2 separate regions of the Homo sapiens genome follow, and region 2 is linked to region 1. The links are contacts of gene promoters, found by promoter capture Hi-C in human tissues and cell types (Jung and others, 2019). All regions are on one chromosome and are shown on one strand. Each heading gives the region's core, a stretch centred on a gene start or on the middle of the fragment in contact. The rest is flanking DNA. Distances are from core to core; before and after follow the strand shown. Region 1 holds the start of SPINT1 (serine peptidase inhibitor, Kunitz type 1). Region 2 overlaps LOC105370943 (a long non-coding RNA gene).

What was found. The method cuts DNA at HindIII sites, captures the fragments that hold promoters and counts their contacts. A contact is called where the count stands out against the background at its distance.
Region 2: a fragment that was not itself captured here is called in contact with the fragment with the promoter of SPINT1 in region 1 in 4 of the 25 tissues and cell types used here (lymphoblastoid cells, ovary, spleen and 1 more).

Annotation. Positions count from the first base shown.
Region 1 is chr15:40,842,705-40,845,401 of GRCh38, forward strand. It overlaps SPINT1 (serine peptidase inhibitor, Kunitz type 1), which reads left to right and starts at 1,344. Exons shown (of 11, transcript NM_003710.4): 1 at 1,344-1,482; 2 at 1,786-2,325. The coding sequence starts at 1,851. It overlaps SPINT1-AS1 (SPINT1 antisense RNA 1), which reads right to left and starts at 1,820. Exons shown (of 2, transcript NR_146468.1): 1 at 1,475-1,820. RefSeq lists silencers at 782-964, 1,126-1,355, 1,436-1,495, 1,786-2,025 and an enhancer at 917-1,488. The HindIII fragment of the contact is 27,771 bases long and covers 1-2,697 here.
Region 2 is chr15:40,907,489-40,910,185 of GRCh38, forward strand. LOC105370943 (a long non-coding RNA gene) reads left to right here. Exons shown (of 2, transcript NR_135836.1): 2 at 1,341-1,863. Among named protein-coding and RNA genes, the nearest start is that of VPS18, 14 kb to the left of the region's middle. RefSeq lists an enhancer at 167-296. The HindIII fragment of the contact is 3,580 bases long and covers 1-2,697 here.

The sequences.
Region 1 (2,697 bases), core at 94-2,593:
AGGTTGCAGTGAGCCGAGATCGTGCCATTGCACTCCAGCCTGGGTGACAGAGCAAGACTCCGTCTCAAAAAAAAAAAAAAAAAAATAAATAAATAAATAAATAAAGATTCTTGAATGTGTTAGCCATAAGGGGAAATCAAATCACAACAAAACCCTTTCTTCCCAGTGACTGCACAATCATTTTCTTCATTCCCAGCATACCACCATTGTTGTATATCCACCAGTGTGCCAGGGTCTGTGGATAAACCCTAAACATCCAGAGAAGGGGAGACAGGCCCCAGATTCCCACCCCAACACGCATCATGTGAGCAGCTGGAGGATGTTGCAGTTCAGCAAAATCCAAGGGTTGGCCACAGGATCTGCTAGGCAAAGCTGCTCTGGATGAGAAACTGGGAAGAATGTTCCCATTGGTTTGGGGGTTGTTAAGCCATCAGGAAAAGGTTTGGAATCTGTATTTTAAGAGAGCATGCTATGTGATTCCTTCCTCCAGCCCTGCCTTCATCTGTCTTTCACCTGTTCAGACCCTTGCCGTAGAGAATGGTCTCTTAAGAGTTTTTTACTCAGGAGGAGCAATGAGCTTGGCTTCAAGGAGTCCACTGTTTCGTGAAGGGCATTAACTCAGCTACTTGGTGAACTGGAACCTCCAGGCTTCCAAGGATGACATTTCCCTGGAAGAAAGTAGCCAGCAGCGTCCCCTTTGTGAAAGAGAGGAAGCCTGGGCTCCAGGGAAGGGGGCAACAGTCCAATGAGCCATAGCAGGGAATGGACCGAACTGTACATACAAGATGAGGAGGGGCCTCGAACAACAGGGAAGCCCCGTGGAGCACGCAGGGGAGCCTGGACGCGGGGAATCGCCTCCGTTTCTCACCCTGACAGCAGGGAGGGCTTCCCGGAGCTGACAGTGAGGCAGACATCCCGGATCCCTGTTATCACAGGTGCAGCCACGCAACTTTTGGGTTACCTTCCCGCCACGAAATGGAAATGATTTCCTGAGGGCCGGAAAGATCATTTGCATCGGGCCTCAGGTCTGGGGCTGGGAAAGCAGGCCCCGGCCGGAAAGGAAGACTGGAGGCCGCCGCCCCAGAGGCCGGACCCTCGCGTCCCGGCCGCATCCCCTCCCGGCTGGGTATGCGCTTCGGGCGCGGGGCTCCCTCGCGAGGCTGGACTGGGTGGAGCCCGAGAGCCCCTCCGGGGAGCTGGCTGCCGGGGAGGCACCGGGGCTGCGGGGCCGCGGGGCGGGCCGGGCCTGGAGCTCCGCGCTAGAGGCGGCCGCAGCGCACCGGGCGTGGGCGGGGCCGGCAGCGCAAGGGTGAATGTCGGCCCCGCCCCGACGGCGCTGACTCAGTTTCACCAGAAACCAGGGGGAGAAGGCGGCCGAGCCCCAGCTCTCCGAGCACCGGGTCGGAAGCCGCGACCCGAGCCGCGCAGGAAGCTGGGACCGGAACCTCGGCGGACCCGGCCCCACCCAACTCACCTGCGCAGGTAACCCGGGCCCCCGCGCGCAAGGCCGAGGCGCAGGCGGAGCGGGCTGGAGCATGTCCGGCCCTTTGTTCTGCGCTCGTGCGTGTGTCCGGGTACTTGAGCTCCCTAGCGGTCCGCCTGTCCGTCTGTCTGGCTGCCGGGTCCCTGGAGGGCGCGTGGGAGGGCCGGGCCCGTGCGCCCTCTTCGATCCTGGGGTGCTCCGGTCCCTCCTCCCCGCCACTTCCTCCCGGCCGGCCCGCCTCCTCCAAAGTCTCCCGGGCTGATCAGGTGTGTCTCCTCCTCTGTCCCCTCCCTTCTTCTCAGGTCACCAGCACCCTCGGAACCCAGAGGCCCGCGCTCTGAAGGTGACCCCCCTGGGGAGGAAGGCGATGGCCCCTGCGAGGACGATGGCCCGCGCCCGCCTCGCCCCGGCCGGCATCCCTGCCGTCGCCTTGTGGCTTCTGTGCACGCTCGGCCTCCAGGGCACCCAGGCCGGGCCACCGCCCGCGCCCCCTGGGCTGCCCGCGGGAGCCGACTGCCTGAACAGCTTTACCGCCGGGGTGCCTGGCTTCGTGCTGGACACCAACGCCTCGGTCAGCAACGGAGCTACCTTCCTGGAGTCCCCCACCGTGCGCCGGGGCTGGGACTGCGTGCGCGCCTGCTGCACCACCCAGAACTGCAACTTGGCGCTAGTGGAGCTGCAGCCCGACCGCGGGGAGGACGCCATCGCCGCCTGCTTCCTCATCAACTGCCTCTACGAGCAGAACTTCGTGTGCAAGTTCGCGCCCAGGGAGGGCTTCATCAACTACCTCACGAGGGAAGTGTACCGCTCCTACCGCCAGCTGCGGACCCAGGGCTTTGGAGGTGAGGAGGGTGCCAAGATGGATGGGTTTGGAGAGACTCAAAAAAGGGACTGGTTATGGGGTCCTAGGGGAGACGAACATCAGAGAGGAGTTAAGGAGAGTTCACTTTTTTTTTTCTTTTTCTTTCTTTTTTTTTGCGACGGAGTCTCGCTCTTGTCGCCCAGGCTGGAGTGCAATGGCGCAATCTCTGGTTGCTCACTGCAACCTCCGTCTTCCACGTTCAAGTGATTCTTCTGTCTCAGCCTCCGGAGTAGCTGGAACTACAGGCACCCGCTACCAGACCCGGCTAATTTTTTTTTTTTTTTTTTTTTTTTTTTTTTTGGTACAGACGGGGTTTCACTATGTTGGCCAGGCTGGTCTTGAACTTCTGAAC
Region 2 (2,697 bases), core at 83-2,582, 65 kb after region 1:
ACTCAGCCCCTTGGCCCTGCCAGCCCTTTGAAGCTCATGCAGCGCTTCCTGTTTGGGGCGGGCGATGCCAGGGCCCCTCCCCCACCATTGTTCTGGAGAGACCATAGGTCCATCTGTTGCCCCATGGTGGGGCCCCTAGGCAGTGCCACACGGGAGCAGCACCACAAAGGACGCTGCTGGCAGCTTTGCTTATGTGGGGTGAGGCTGGGCCCTGCAGCAGGTTGAGGGTGAATGGTGGTCAGAGGCAGGCCTGGGGCGGGCACTGGGATAGGAGGATGCTAGAAAGTTCTGGTGCTTGGGCAGCTGGAGCCCTCAGCTTTCTCCTCCACCTGGAGCATGGAGATGATATTCAGGGAGCCATACGTGCTGAAGCCACCAGGAGAGGGCCACCATTCTCATGCCTGGATTCCCAAAAGGAAAACTGAGGCAGAGGGGCAAACTTTGGTCCAGGATGGCCAATAAAAGGGTCACAAAATAGGGTTGTCATTTCAAGGGGATTGGCCCCACTCTCTGAATGCCCAGTAATTGGGTGCTTTCCTCTCCCTGAGCAGCTTTACCGTGGCTCAGCTTTCACCTTGAACCAGCCCTTACTGAGCAGTCAGAAACCATACCGTGAGGTCAGGAGAGGCTGCGCGGCCTTAGTTTGGTGGCCAGCAACCCATGTCCACTGAGAATAAGCTTGGGCAGAGAAAAGGGAAAGGGGCACTGGTCTGGCCCCCCGGAAGGTGGCTGCTGCTTCTGGTTCCCAGGCTGCTGTGGCCAAAGGTCTGTTTGTGTTTGCCAGGTGCAGAGGCAGGTGGCTGCAGCTCACCTTCCCTCCATGGCATGATCTCCCAGCTCTGACCCTTGACCTGTTCCCTCGCGGCATCTCCACAGGGCTAGAAGGTGAACCCTACTTCCTTTACCAGGTCCTCTGGTTTCTCTTCCCAGGCCAGGACCTAAACCGTTCACAACTCCCAGCAGGCCAGAGCTGCAGAGACCTCAGATAGAGACTATAAAGTGCTGTGGAAGCCTTGTTCAAATAAAAACATTCATGAATGTCCAGTACTTGAAATTGGTATGCTGAGATTCTCCGATGGAAACTGGGCTGGAGGGACCCACACTCCTGTTCACTCAGCCTGTTCTCCACTCCTATCTCAATGTCTCTCTCTCTGTTTTTTTTTTTTTTTTTTAATAGAAACAACACCTTGTTCTATTGCCTAGGCTGGAGTGCAGTGGCGCCATCATAGCTCACTGCAGCCTTTAATTCCTGATCTCAAGTGATCCTCCCACCCCAGGCTCCTGAGTAGCAAGGACTACAGACACCACACCTGGCTAATTTTTATTTCTATTTTTTGTAGTGACGGGGGTCTTGCTAGGTTGCCAAGGCTGGTCTTGAACTCCTGACTTCAAGCAGTCCTCCCACCTCAGCCTCCTAGGGTGTCCGGATTACAGGCATGAGCCACTGTGCCCGGCCCCCTATCACGATATCCATAAGATGCCAGGATGCCCAGGAACCGAGTTTGAAAGACATTGTGCTGCTGATCCCACCTCCTGACTTTACAGCTGCTGAATTGCAGAAGACAAATTGGTAGCTAACAGGAGGCTCCATCCTGGATCCTGCCCCTGTCCGTGAGATTCAGCCTTGATTAACTGTGTTCCCATGCTGGTCGTGAGCAGGGCACCATCCTAGGTCCTTCTTTATACTCATTTTCCATCTCCAGCCAAAATGGGTTGAACCGAGGAACAAGGACATAATCTGTAAAGAGCAAGTGCAAGTCTCTGCTCTGCCATTACCAGCATCAGGCTAATCAAGCCCTTGGAAACTCAATTTCTTCTCCTGTAAAATGTGAATAACTGTTACAGACCTGGAAAGGCTCTTGTGAGGCTGAAATGAGAGCGGTGCCGCCCATCTGTCAAGGTAGCCCAGGGCCTGGCGCCCAAGCAGCCCTGGGCACTTGCCCCTCTTCCCTTTTACTCTGCACCTCCTTTCTGTAGGCGTAGGACCCTGAGACCTGTCCCAGCTCATCCCTCACAAGGCCCTCTGACTTCTTCAGATATCAGAGTGGAATTGGAAGAAAGAAGCTTGCTTGAGTAGGTTTTTCTGGTTTCTTGAACAATGGCGATTCTAAGGAAAAGAGGTTCAGGATGAGAATGAGAGGAAGCCCACAGGCATGTAGAATATGGCCACAGGTGGGACAAGAGTGCTTCCTTGGGATGGGGGTCCTGGTTCCCTGAAGGAAAGGAGACAGGGCACTACTCCAGCTCCAGGAGTCTCATAGGACAGGCCAAGAGGGCTGGGCAGACACCATGCTGGCCGCTGATCAGGCATGACTCCTCTGCCAGCCTGCCCTCGCAGGCCAGCCCAGAACTTGCACAACAGTCGGCCTGGCTGGCACTCTCCCGGGAGCTTCAGGAAGTCCCCCTTGTCCTCCCCTTGACCTTTGACCCCTTGGGCCTGCTGCCGACCAGAATACCAGGCAGATGTTCTCTCTTTTACCTTTTGTTCCTGGTCTTTCCCTCTAAGGCTGGAACTCAGAGATACCCCAAACCCCCAGCTTCCAGCTCATCCTTCCCCATGCTCTCAGTGCGGACCAGCTGGAGCCTCCACTGGGCCGCTCTCCATGTGAGCCAGTGTGGATCCTTGGCCACAGCCGGCAGGACGCTTGCAAGTGCCCCGACTCCAGACATCCTCCCAGGTGTCCTTCCCGACTAGCT